3 separate regions of the Homo sapiens genome follow, and regions 1 and 2 are each linked to region 3. Evidence: promoter capture Hi-C in 16 types of primary human blood cells and fetal thymus (Javierre and others, 2016). All regions are on one chromosome and are shown on one strand. Each heading gives the region's core, a stretch centred on a gene start or on the middle of the fragment in contact. The rest is flanking DNA. Distances are from core to core; before and after follow the strand shown.

Region 1 (4,360 bases), core at 248-2,747, 230 kb before region 3:
CTGTAAGAAACATTAACAGCCTCCCAGGGCTCTTACAACTCCTCTACTGGACCTCAGTTTGGCCCCTGCTGACCTCCCAAGCCTCAAGCCATAATAACCTCCCACTTAATCCCCAAGGGGCAACCACAAAGATTTTGGTTCCTCAGACAGAACACATTCCCTTGATTACAGTGACTGTTCACACACTGTTTCCTGGGCCTAAAATGCTCCTTTCCTCTCTTTGCTTGGTTAACTCATACTCTTCCTCCAAATCTCAAATAAATTATCATTCATTCAACTCAACAAATATTTACTGGACACCTACTACATGCCAAATACCGTGCTAGGTGCTGGAATGCAGCAACAAACAAATCAAGCTTCTGTCCTCAGGAAGCTTACATTCTCCTAGGGGGAGGGGGAGAGGAGAAAATAAACACATATAAAATGTACCAGGTGGTCATAAGTGCCCCGAAGACAAAAAGGGTAGAGGGAGTGAGGGGAGGCAAATGCTATTGTATTAATATCTATAGAGAAGGTATCTATGATAAAGTGTTATCTTATTTTAACAGAGACCTGAAAGAAGGGTGGGAGCCACACTGACAGCTGCAGGTGAAGAGTGCAAGGTAGGCCGGGTGCGGTGGCTCACGCCTGTAATCCCAGCATTTTGGGAGGCCAAGGTGGGCGGATCACGAGGTCAGGAGATCGAGACCATCCTGGCTAACACGGTGAAACCCCGTCTCTACTAAAAATACAAAAAATTAGCTGGGCAAGGTGGCAGGCGTCTGTAGTCCCACCTACTCGGGAGGCTGAGGCAAGAGAATGGTGTGAACCCCAGGGGGCGGAGCCTGCAGTGAGCCGAGATCGCGCCACTGCACTCCAGCCTGGGTGACAGGAGACACCATCTCAAAAAAAAAAAAGAGTGCAAGGTAGAGGGGGCTGCTGTGCAAAAGTCCTGGGGTGGGAGCAGAGGCCACCATGGCTCAGGAAGAGGGAATGAGGGCAAGAGTGGAATGAGACGAGATCAGAAAGGAAACAGAGTCATCATTTAAGGGCCCATAGGCCTTAATAGGGAGTTGGATTTGACTCTGAATGATGCAGGGAGCCATTGGAGAATTACGTGACCTGGCTTACTTTAAAAGGATCACACGGGCTGCTGCGAGGAAAAAACAATTGACAGAGGTAAGGCAGGAAACTGGGAGACATGAATAAGCAATTGTAGCCTTCCAGGTGTGAGACAACGGTGGGCTAGGCCATGTGGGGGAAGTGGATGGGGTGAGACATCGCTGGAGCCCAGTTGAATCAATGCCCCTAATGGAAGTTCCCAGAGCACCTCCTTCTTCTATGGTGGTTGTAATGGGACATTTATTGGTGCACATTTGATTAATGTCTGTCTCCCCCTACTGGGCTATAAGCCTCAAGAAGGCAAGAAATGGGTCTTCTTTGCTCACCATTGCATTTCCAACATCCAGTGCCCACAATATATGCTCTATATAGTTTTCTTGAATGAATGAATGAATGAATGAACAAATACCCCAAAAACAAAAGCACAAACACACAATCCTTTAAGTCTACTTGGGAAGCCCAGCCTTCCCTGCTCTCTTGAGGCTCTGCAAGAAGCAGTCATGCAACATCCACTCCATGCCCAGCACCTTCCAGGCACAATATTAAAGAAGTGCAGGGGCCAGGTGCAGTGGCTCACCCCTGTAATCCCAGCACTTTGGGAGGCCGAGGTGGGTGGATCACAAGGTCGGGAGTTTGAGACCAGCCTGGCCAATATGTGAAACCCTGTCTCTACTAAAAATACAAAAATTAGCTGGGCATGGTGGCAGGCACCTGTAGTCCCAGCTACTCAGGAGACTGAGGCAGGAGAATCGCGTGAACCTGTGAGGTGGCAGTTGCAGTGAGCCAAGATCACACCACTGCACTCCAGCCTGAGCAACAGAGAGAGACTCTGTCACAAAAGAAAAAGAAAAAGAACAAGAGCAGGGCAGTGTGACATTTGCTACCCAGGTTCAGGTCCAGGGTCTGCCAGCCATGGCCAGAGACATAATAATTGCTAAGAATTACTGAGTTTACTTTGTTTCAGAGACCACTTTAGATGCTTTCTGTTATTACTTTGCTTAAATCCCGTGCAAGTCAAACAAAGTAGGTATTATTATTATTATCCAGATGCATAAACTGTATGGCACAATCACACATCCCTGGGTCCTCCCAGGAGGGCCACCACACTCTGAAACTCCAGTCTTTTCTATTTTTCAGAGACGGAGTCTCACTCTGTCGCCCAGGCTGGAGTGCAGTGGTGCAATCTCAGCTCACTGCGATCTTCACCTCCCAGGTTCAAGCGATTCTCCTGCCTCAGCCTCCCAAGTAGCTGGGATTACAGGTGCCCACAACCATGCCCAGTTGATGTGTGTGTGTGTGTGTGTGTGTGTGTGTGTGTGTGTTTAGTAGAGATGGAGTTTTGCCATGTTGGCCAAGCTGATCTCGAATTCCTGACCTCAGGTGATCAGCCTGCCTTGGCCTCCCAAAGTGCTGGGGTTACAGGCATGAGCCACCGCACCTGGCCTGAAACTCCTTTCCAAACCTAAGTTTAGATTTCCAATGCCACTGAAATCTCACCTAAATTCAGGGCAATCAGAGGGAGAAGCTTCTACACACCCCAAATCTCAGGCTGTCTCTCCATCTCCTTCCCTTGGTCAAGTGGCAACCTCCCAAGGACGGCCACAAGGCACCCAGAGCCCAGCTGCAGAGTCCACTGGCTCTGTGGGAGTCCTGGAGATAAAGGACACCACCGTCCCCTCTCAGATGCCCCAAGCTAAATGGACCCAGCAAAGCCTGGCCCAGCAGCTCCAACTGCTGTCTGTGGGGAAGCTGGCTGAAAGAGCTCCGGGGCAGGCTCCGTGTCTTATCTGTCCTGCAAATCCAGAGCTGTGGGTGCCAGGAGCCAAAGCCTCATTTCTGAGCCTGGTTTGTGTCCTAGCTTAGCCCAGATCCTAAAAGTCAGGAGATGAAGGAATGGCCATCATTCTTCTTGACTCAACTGCATGTTTGAGAACTAAGATGCCAGGACTCACAGTGACAGGAGAGGCAGTGCAGTCCCCCAGTGCATAGCAGCTGCACCCTGAGGCTGGTGTGTCTGAGCAAAGCCAATGCAGAGCTGCGGGCCCTACAGATCCCATGGGGAAGGAGGGAGAGGGGAGGGCAGGGGAGGGTAGCAGCTGAGGAGGGTTCTCACTGCCTCGCCTGAAGCTGAAACCTAGCATCCAGTGGGTGATAGTGCCTGGCACGTTGCATTTCCCAGGGATGGAAAAATGTACTTTTGTCCCCTCCAATCAGTTGGAGGTGTGCCTGGAAAAGTGAGTTGAGAAGGATGGGGCTGAGCTTGGGCCTCCTGGGCTATCACAGCCACTGAGTACTGAGTGAAGAGTGATGGCTGATGAGAGAGGGAAGCGAGGGTGGGTGTGCGTGTGCCAGGCTTTCACAGCTCCAGAGCTGAGCTGCTCCAGAGCTCATATCGATAGAGACAGAATAACTTCATCCACAGGATTCTGCCTGCTGAGAATCAGAAACAAGTTCCCTCTTCCTGGCCAGCCATGCCAAGAGCCCTCAGCTAGACCCGTCAGGATTCTAGGTCCCTAAGGGGCACGGAGCCTCCATGGACTGTCCTGTTTGTGGTTTTAGCCTCTGGGAACAGTTGGCTCCCATCTGACCCAGCAGCAGCCAGAAAACATCACCACACTTGATCCAAGAACCCACCGTTGGGGCCACCAGGCAACCAAGCCACCAGGCTGAAGTTGCAGGCAGCCCCTAGCCCTCTCTCCTCACCTCTCCGTCACCCTCTTCCTCCTCCTTTCCTGCCATTCGCCATCTATCAAAATAAAAACTCAAATTTTAAGGACAAATCCTAGAAAATGAGTGAATACAGAACATCAGGGAAGAGGAATGTAGCATTAGTTTTATCCCTTAGGCCTTGAGCATTGATGAGTTTAAAGAAGGAAAAATCAAGAAGGAAACTTGAGTGAAGAGAGGCAACGAATGGGGGAAAAGCTGGGCAAGATGTTAGAAGGACCGGATTCTAGTCCCAGTTCACCACTCACCTGGGGCACCAGACGTCACTGTTCTCACCTGAGGTCCTGGTTGTGCATAGGGTTGTCTCTGGGCATTGGAGGGGAGAACCAGGGAGCCGGCCCCCAGGACCACCCCTGCATCACTTAATGCAGCTTCCAGATTACATTTTATTTTTAGTAGAGACGGGGCTTCACCATGTTGGCCAGGCTAGTTTTGAACTCCTGGCCTCAAGTGAAACACACACCTCAGCCTCCCAAAGTGCTGGGATTACAGGCGTGAGCCACTGTGCCTGGCCTCCAGATTACGTTTTATT
Region 2 (4,525 bases), core at 198-2,697, 200 kb before region 3:
GACGTATAGGAGAAGTAGCCAGAGCTCTTCATCCCCTGCCAGGAGAGCATAGTAGCTCACATTTATTGAGTTCTTAGTACACGCTGGGCACTGTTCTAGGCTTTTTACATGAATTAACTCATTAAATACTCAGAACAAAACCATGAGGCAGGTACTATTATAATATTATCTCCATTTTGTGGACACTTAGGAAAGATTAATTTGCCCGAGTTTGCACGACTAATAATTTTCAGAATCGAGATTTGAATCCTGGAGCCTGTGCTCCTAACCAAACCACCATCTGCCTCTCCTGAGCCCATTGTCCTTAACTTCTTGCGGTCATGTGTGCTGGAGAGAATGTGATCAAAGCCCTGGACCTTCTCCCTAGGAAAACGCAGGTAAACAGAATTTTGCATATTTCAGGGACTTTGGGGACACCTAAGACCCATCTACTGTCGACCTCAGACTTAGAAGCTCTATTTATCTCATACATCCTGGAGAGAATTGTCCAGGGACAAAAACAGAAGCGCCGCCAGCGCCGCAGGACTTCGCCTCTGCAAACGTGTGAGGAGAGCTGCGCTGCGCTGAGCTGCGTGGTGACGGAGATGCCCGTTCGCTCGGGATCAGGAACGGTGAGCTCCTGGGACCGCAATGCCCTGAGAACGCAGCCGGGTGCTGAGCCTCCGGAGTCCGGTAGCTGAATGAAATACGCAGGGATCACCAGCCGGACCCAAATCTTGCGTCCCTGCCAGCATCCTGGAGTCCTAAGAGGCAGGGATTGGAGCGGACAGGATCTCAGAACTCTGGTCCCGGGCGCACAACGGCGGAGTCGCTGTTCCTGGTGCTGAAACGCTCAGTCCTGGAAGAACGTGGCCGCCTGCCCGCCTGGTACCGCGCCGCGGCCGCTGCGGGGAACTGTCCAGTGCTGAAAACGGATGCGGCCCGGCCCGCAGAGCTCAGACCCAAGCCTGCCGCACCCAGCGGAGCTCGAACCGAGCTCCTGGAAGCGCTGACGCAGAGCGCAGGGAGAGCCGGAGCGGCGAGCTCCAAGCCTGGCATGGACCTGCAGAGACCCGATTCCTACCAGGGAGGAGCTGGCCCTGACTTCAACGACCACGTCCTGCATAAGGTAAACATCTCCTGTATTCCTCAACCTAACGTTGGAAGAGGCGCCAGCACCAGGAGTTTTCTCCACTCCCCTGACTTTGCTTTGGGACTTAATGAGAAACTAGCTTGTATCTGTGAGTCTGGGGAGCCCTTTCTGTCTGATCCTGTTTCCTGCTCAAAACAGAGATGCGTGAGCTCTTGGGGAAGGGCTGCCGCCAGAGGCTCAGATGGTCAGAAGCTTCATTCATTCACTTACATCATCTGTGTTCCTTTTTCACCCCCTCCTTCTCCTTGCCTATTTATGCCCCTGGGTGACCCCTGGCACCTTGCTCTCCTAACCCTTGTAGGAGACTGCATTTCTCCCTGTTACATCTGCTAGCAGTGGCCAAATACCTGAATTTCTGGCCAATTTGTCTGAAATTAGATAAATGGTCTGCAGCAGAGATGAACTGCTGTTTTCAAATCAGACTCCCTCATGGCTCCAGAAAGCTTCCCTCCAGCCATGATTCCCTCACAGCCCCTGTAAGCATTTGCTTATTTCAAAGCACTAACATATCCATTGCTTCCTTCACTCAAGTTTCTTATGCAACTCAGTTTTCAGTAATGCAGGTCTCCCCCTAAGATAGTTGTTGGGAAAAATAGTAGCCTCTCTCAGGATAACAGTTTTAATTCAAAATCCATCACTCTGAAATAATCAAAGTGTTATATTTGCCATAAGAAGTTATTATGGCTCACCTTCCTTTTCTCTGACTTTGCCATGCCTTCCTGCTCCAGCCCCTATATTTTCTGCTTTGATAATGCCAGTTCACCTGCTAGTCCTTTGAAAAGCTGTACGTGATCCTATAGGTGGAGTTTTTTAATCAAAACATCACTTTGAAGAGTCTATGAATGCAAGCTTTGAAATAACCTAACCCAACCTCCTCCTCTATCACCCAGCTTATATTTGAGGAAACTAAAATCCAGAGAGGAAAAATGACTTGTCCAAGAAAGCAAGCTGGTAAATGGCAGAGCTGATACTAAAAGCCAGAAATTACTACTACACGTGTAGTATTCTTTCCTCTATATCCTTACTAAACTTCTCATCAAAGTGTGCAGTCCATGGACCAGCAGCATTGGCATTACCTTGGAACTTATTACAATAGAAAGCCCTGACCCTAGATTGGCTGAATCTGAATCTGCATTTTAACAAGATCTCTAGGAATAAATATGCACAATAAAGTTTTAGGTGCATGGCTCTGTGCCATGCTGCCTGTTTCTGACACAAATGAAAGAAAATCAGCTATTGAAGGAAGCAGGTCTCTAGATCTGACAGTCCATGTGTCTTCTCCCTCCAGGTCTCTGAATTCCTAGGATATAGAGAAGGAGAAAAAATGTATAACAACTATCCCAGTCTAGAAATTTTAAAGCCATCACAGTTTGAAGTAAACTAGAAGAAATTCTGTGCTATTTGATGTTGTCAATTTAGCCCAGTAAAAACTGCATGCAAGGCCAGGCATGGTGGCTCACACCTGTAATCTCAGCACTTTGGGAGGCCGAGGCGGTGGACCGCTTGAGGTCAAGGGTTCAAGACCAGCCTGGCCAACATGGTAAAATCTGTCTCTACTAAAAATACAAAAATTCGCTGGGCATGGTGGTGTGCGCCTGTGATCCCAGCTACTCAGGAGGCTGAGGCAGGAGAATTGCTTGAGCCTGGGAGGCAGAGACTGCAGTGAACCGAAATCACACCACTGCACTCCACTCTAGCCTGGGCAACAAAGCAAGACCTTGTCTCAAAAAAAAAAAGAAAAAAAAAGTTTATGCAAGCAGAGGAACATAATTACAAATCAATTACAAAATTTTCCTGGCAACTAGATATGTGGGTCTCTCCAAGTTTATACCATCCTATAAAGGTATAAATACTCATTTTGAAAGCTTTAAGATTGGGAGCTCAGATTGTTCAAAATATTGATCAGATGTGGTATTTTCCATTTCAATTACCCACACACGAGATGTAGGATGTAGTCCATGAAGACTGTTACTTCCTTTGAGTTTATTGATCACCAAATTGAGAGTGGGAACCCATTCCAACAAGTTCCAACATATTTAAAGGCAAGTATCTATTTACTACTAGTAAAGGCTCAATGTCATCAGCTTGGCTGTGTGAGCACCCTGAGAGCAGGAGCCAGCCTTAAACCTTCTGTGGTGCCCAGCAGAGTGACATATGTATGTAAGGAAAGTTTTCCTTCTTATATAGTGCTGACAACCTCCTCCTAATACTACTTTATGATTGTGCATGATGTTTTATTGTGATCCACTTAAAACTCTTTTTGTAAAGGGGTAGGGCATCAACTTATTTGTATTATATTAAAAATTACTATGTAGTAGAGTCCAAGGAGTTCCCATTGATTGATTAGTGTCTATTGTCCATGAGAAGCAGGGCTCCCCTCCAACATTAATTGCTAGGATAAATTCTTTTTTTGAAGTGGGGTCTCAGTCTGTCACCCAGGCTGGAATGCAGTGGTGTGATCTCAGCTCACTGCAACCTCTGCCTCCCAGGCAAGTGATTCTCCCACCTCAGCCTCCCCAGTAACTGGAACTGCAGGCATGTGCCACCATGCCTGGCTAATTTTTTGGCAGTTGTTGTTTTGTAGAGACAGAGTTTCACCATGTTGGCCAGGCTGGTCTTGAACTCCTGGCCTCAAGAGATCCACCCGCTCGGCCTCCCAAAGTGCTGGCATTATATGTATGAGCCACCATGCCCAGCGTGGGGAAATGATTTTTTAAATAGACTTGTTATTGACACATAACAAACACCACTTTGGGAAGCTGAGGCGGGCAGATCTCTTGAGGTCAGGAGTTCAAGACCAGCCTGGCCAACATGGCGAAACTTTGTCTCTACTAAAAATACAAAAATCAGCTAGGCGTGGTAACACACTCCTATAATCTCAGCTACTAGGGAGGCTGAGACAGGAGAATCACTTGAACCGAGGAGGTGGAGACTGCAGTGAGCCAAGATCACACCACTGCACTCCAGCTTCAGCAACAGAGCAAGACTCCATCTCAAAAAAACAAAAAGAAATATGACAAACACCAAAAAATCCTGAATCTTATGTGTCTACCTTGGTGAATTATCACAAAGTGAACATACCTGTGCAATCACTATCAAGAGAAAGAAATAGAACCTTGTCAGCTTCCCAAGAGGCCCCCTCCCACATTCCACTTGCCAAACACCCTCCCCCAGAGATTGTCATTATAGAGGAAGAAGCATCATCTTGTGTTTTGACAGCACAGCAGATGTTATGTAGGGTAGTCCTAGAAACTTGCCAGAGAAGAGATATTGTCGTATGATGAAACGAAACTCCAGGCTTGGAATAAGCCAAACCTTGATGTGACTTTGAGCAACATCTGTGAGTCTTAATTTTCTTAGCTATAAAATAGGAATGATAATACCTGCCTTATT
Region 3 (4,012 bases), core at 1,447-3,946:
CTTGAGGTCAGGAGTTCAAAACCAGCCTGATCAACATGGTGAAACCCTGTCTCAACCAAAAATACAAAAATTAGCTGCATGTGGTGGAGTGCGCCTGTAATCCCAGTTACTCAGGAGGCTGAGGCAGGAGAATCGCTTGAACTTGGGAGATGGAGGTTGAAGTGAGCTGAGACTGTGCCACTGCACTCCAGCCTGGGCGACAGAGCCAGACTCCATCTCAAAAAAAAAAAAAAAAAAAAAAGAACACTGCCTGGAAAGCTTACTCTCCTCCCTTCCAAAATGTCAGGATCAGCTAAAAAAAAACTGTCCCTTATACAAAGCCCTTCAGGGCCTCTCCAGCCCCCATGTGCTCCCTGATCTCCATCCCAGAGCCCAGGCTGTCCTCCCTCCCACATGGCAGCGTGCCCAAGGCCTTGCATTCCAGGATGACTCCCCACATGTGGGAGGCCCTCACCAAAGCCCTTGGTCTGCTTCAAGGCAGCTCAAATGCACTGTCTCTCTTTTTTTTTTTTTTTTTTTTTTTGAGACAGGGTCTCACTCTGTCGCCCAGGCTGGAGTACAGTGATTTGATCTTGGCTCAGTGCTACCTCCACCTCCTGGGTTCAAGCGATCCTCCCGACTCAGCCTCCCAAGTACCTGGGACTACAGACCTGTGCCACCACACGTGGCTGATTTTTCTATTTTTAGTAGAGATGGGGTTTCACCACGTTGGCCAGGCTGGTCTCAAACTCCTGACTTCAAGTGATCCACCTGCCTTGGCCTCCCAAAGTGCTGGGATTACAGACATGAGCCACCTGGGCTTCCGGCCCAGGAAACAGTTTCTGATTGACCCCACCTGCCTCGGCTCACGCTGCCCACATTATTGTAATTAGCTCTTTCACCCGTGTTGCCTGGGAAGCATGCACGGGTCACTTTTCAGCAGAGTGATCAACTCATCCCAGTTTCCCAAGAACTTCCAGCTTAGCGCTGAAGCCCCTTGTCCTGGGCAGTCCAGGCCAGTTGGTCACCCTACATTTCAAGCATCTGTGTGTGTGTGTATAATTAAGATATTCATCCTTTCTCTTGTCTCTCCACGGACACTCCAAGCCTCTCCAAAGCTAGGCAACTGTCTCACGTCTCAGTTAACCTGGGTATCCCCTCTCTACTCTGTCCCAAAGTCTGATGTGGAGTCTCAAGTAGAACCTGTAGCCTTGGCTTGGGGCCCTTCCTGCCGAGGCAGACACTGAAAGCCTTGAGATCCTGGCCTTCACAGGGGAAGGGGGAGGGGCAGAGGGCAGGCTGAAAGAACAGAATGGCACGGAGGACTGGAGCTATGGGTGAGGAGGGCATGGCAAGGCAGGTAAAGTTACAGAAAGCGGAGGAGGTGGGTAGCCTCGAGATGTAGGATGTTTGGGATAGAGTGAAGATAGACGAGAGAGGAGGGAAGATGAAGGAGGACAAAGTCATTTTGCAGGTCTACATAAGCCCCCTGGAGTGCTTGGCCAGGGAGGCAAAGCTGACCACCTGCCACTGACCACTCACCACCAATGTGCGTTTTACACCCCTGTCACACTGAGGACGGGAGGGGAGGGGAGCCTCAGGTGTAGGTGAGGAAGCAAGTGGGAAGTGTCCAGGCCAGATGGCTGGGAGCCCCTTCCCCATAAGGCAACCAGGAGTGCTCTTAAAACCCAAAGCGGGTGAGGCTTGCCCTTAGGACTGGAGCAGCAGGTGAATGATGGACTATGAGTAAGTGGCTTACCTTTAGCAGGTGTTGGGCCGTGTAGAAGCCAGCTGGGCCACTGCCCACCACACAGATCTGGGGGGTCTTCTCCTGTGTGGAGAAATGGTGGCAGAAGCCTGGGGCCAGGCAGAGGAGAGGGAAAAGGTCAAAATTAACTTCTCTCCCCAGTCCCAAACCAACCTGAATATCCAACAGAAGCTGGAACTTCCCAAGCTTCACCCTCACCTGCATCCTCCTTCTCTTGTTCCTCAAGGCTTTGGCATTTGCAGGGTCTCTTACTTCATCTGAACCCCCAAAGGCTGTGGGTTCATCCAGAGCCCACATCTCACCCATGAACCTACTACACCACTGCCAATGGCCTGCCCAACAACACTTCATTCCCTATCCAATCGGCTAGAATCCCACATCCTTCCAACGGCCTCCATATCATCCCAATCTCGCCCCCGTGGGTCTCCCCACGGTGTCCCTCCTCTAACCCCTCTCTCTCTCCACAAAACGCTATATTGCCCATATAGACCCGTCTTATTCCTACAGATCCCTGTTTCGACTCAGACTTTCCTCTCGCCCCACAGACCTCCGTATCATCCTCCATTCACCCCGTCTCACACCTGTAGATCTCAAAGTCTCTCCTTTTCACCTTTGTTGACCTCCGTCTCTAACCCTAGAAGCCTCACATCTCACGCACAGATCTCCGCCCACCCCCGTACACCACCGGGATCTCGCCAGCAGGAAGACACCCCTTCAGTCTCACCCTTCTCCAGCCCTGCCCCAGCTCTGCTCCGACCCCTACTCAGCGCTCGCAGGCCTCCCCGCGCTCCCATCCAGCCCCAAAGGCGCCCTGCTCCTACTCGGGGTGCTCCCGGCGGGAGGCAGCCGGGTCCGAGGCCACGCCGACCAGCCCCACCAGCGCCAGCAGCGCGAAGCCATGGCTGGGAGCAGCAACCTGCAAGTGGATCTGTTCCTAGCTACTGCTCCGCAGGGCAAGCCCGCTCCTGCCCGGGCCCGCCCACAAGCGAGGCCCCGCCCCAAACCCCGCCCCCTGCGCTCCGGGAAAGCGGAGCCTTGCGGCTCCACCCCGACTCCCGAGAGAATCCCGCCCCCAAAAGAGAGACCCGCCCTTAACTACGCCCCACCGTCGAAGCCCCGCCCCTCGGAGCATCCGGGGTATACGCGATTTAATACATTTCTCCCCAGGCCTCACCTTCCCTCCAAATCCCGGAAGCCTAGGGTTGGAAGAGAGCGAATCCCCATCGCTGTTTCAGTCCCTCCCCAAGGAAACAGCCACTAAGAAAGGAGCTTATTTTACTTAGCCGCGCCCCTCTCGGGAGGCTCTCGTCGCTCACTGATGACGCAGACGCCCTTGCCATTTGATTGCGAATCCTCCCACGTGACTTCGTCCTAGCCAATCACGAGTCCGGCTCCAAGCGAGCCTTCCCGCCGTTGGGAAATAACCAGAGTGCGGAAGTCTGGGGCGAGGGAGCTCCTTCCCGGAGCCCAGCAGCCTCCTTCTTCGACCCCGGGTGTTGTGCCGATGTAACCCCTCAAATCCCCGTCTTTGCCGGGCCAGGGAGAATATTAAACCCTGGAAAGCTCGTCCCACCTCACCTCCTTTCCCATTACATAGGTGAAGAAAAGCGGGGCGGGGCAGTGGCTTACGTATGGTACTAAGGACAGAGCGTCCGACCCCCGTGCAGCCGAGCCGGGACCAGAGTTGAGGTACTCCCCTCGGGTTCAGAATTTAAGGGGGCTCCAAAACACTCAGTAATCAAGATAAATATAATACTGCAACGTTTTAAAAGGTCAAAAGTAATGCAAAAAGTCTATGATCAAAATGTTTTTAAAAATAAGGACAGGATCCGTAGTCACAGCTGACCCAATAAGCCTAACCCCTCTTCCTTTTCCCCATGGGCCCTCTTGTCAAATATTACTTCCTTGGAGAAGCCTTTTCTCTGACCCGTCCCCTCCCAAGTTCCAAGGAGTTAAAGGCCTCTCATTCCACAGCATCTGACCTTATCCCATCATGACTTACTACACTGGTTGTCGTTTTTAATGAGATTTTAAATTCAATAATAACATACAGAAAAGTGCACAAATCATGAGTGTACAACTTGACAATATATCACAAGGTGTAACCATATAACCACCACCCAGATCAAGAAATAAAACATGGCCAGTATCCCAGGAGTCCTCTGTGCCCTTACTGGTCACTTCCCCTCCCTCCCACTGGTAAGTAAATGCTGTCTGCTTTCTAATAGGTCACTGTGTTTTATGCCTGTCCCACTAGACCAGGAG

What was found. Contacts are between HindIII fragments. The CHiCAGO score rates a contact against its expected background, and 5 or more counts as called.
Region 1: a fragment that was not itself captured here is called in contact with the fragment with the promoter of FDXR in region 3 in 1 of 17 cell types (naive B cells); the score reaches 5.6 in naive B cells.
Region 2: a contact is called between a fragment that was not itself captured here and the fragment with the promoter of FDXR in region 3, in 1 of 17 cell types (naive CD4 T cells). The highest score is 6.3, in naive CD4 T cells.

What each region holds. Positions count from the first base shown.
Region 1 is chr17:74,645,103-74,649,462 of GRCh38, forward strand. No RefSeq gene overlaps it. Among named protein-coding and RNA genes, the nearest start is that of CD300E, 24 kb to the left of the region's middle. The HindIII fragment of the contact is 2,253 bases long and covers 372-2,624 here.
Region 2 is chr17:74,670,551-74,675,075 of GRCh38, forward strand. It overlaps RAB37-AS1 (RAB37 antisense RNA 1), which reads right to left. Exons shown (of 2, transcript XR_007065904.1): 2 at 1-4,525. It also overlaps a transcript of RAB37 not described here. Among named protein-coding and RNA genes, the nearest start is that of RAB37-AS1, 4.8 kb to the right of the region's middle. The HindIII fragment of the contact is 251 bases long and covers 1,323-1,573 here.
Region 3 is chr17:74,870,298-74,874,309 of GRCh38, forward strand. FDXR (ferredoxin reductase) reads right to left here and starts at 2,697. Exons shown (of 12, transcript NM_024417.5): 1 at 2,569-2,697; 2 at 1,739-1,836. The coding sequence starts at 2,647. RefSeq lists enhancers at 2,049-2,949, 2,747-3,041, 2,997-3,226, 3,847-4,012 and silencers at 2,437-2,566, 2,607-2,836. The HindIII fragment of the contact is 12,318 bases long and covers 1,932-4,012 here.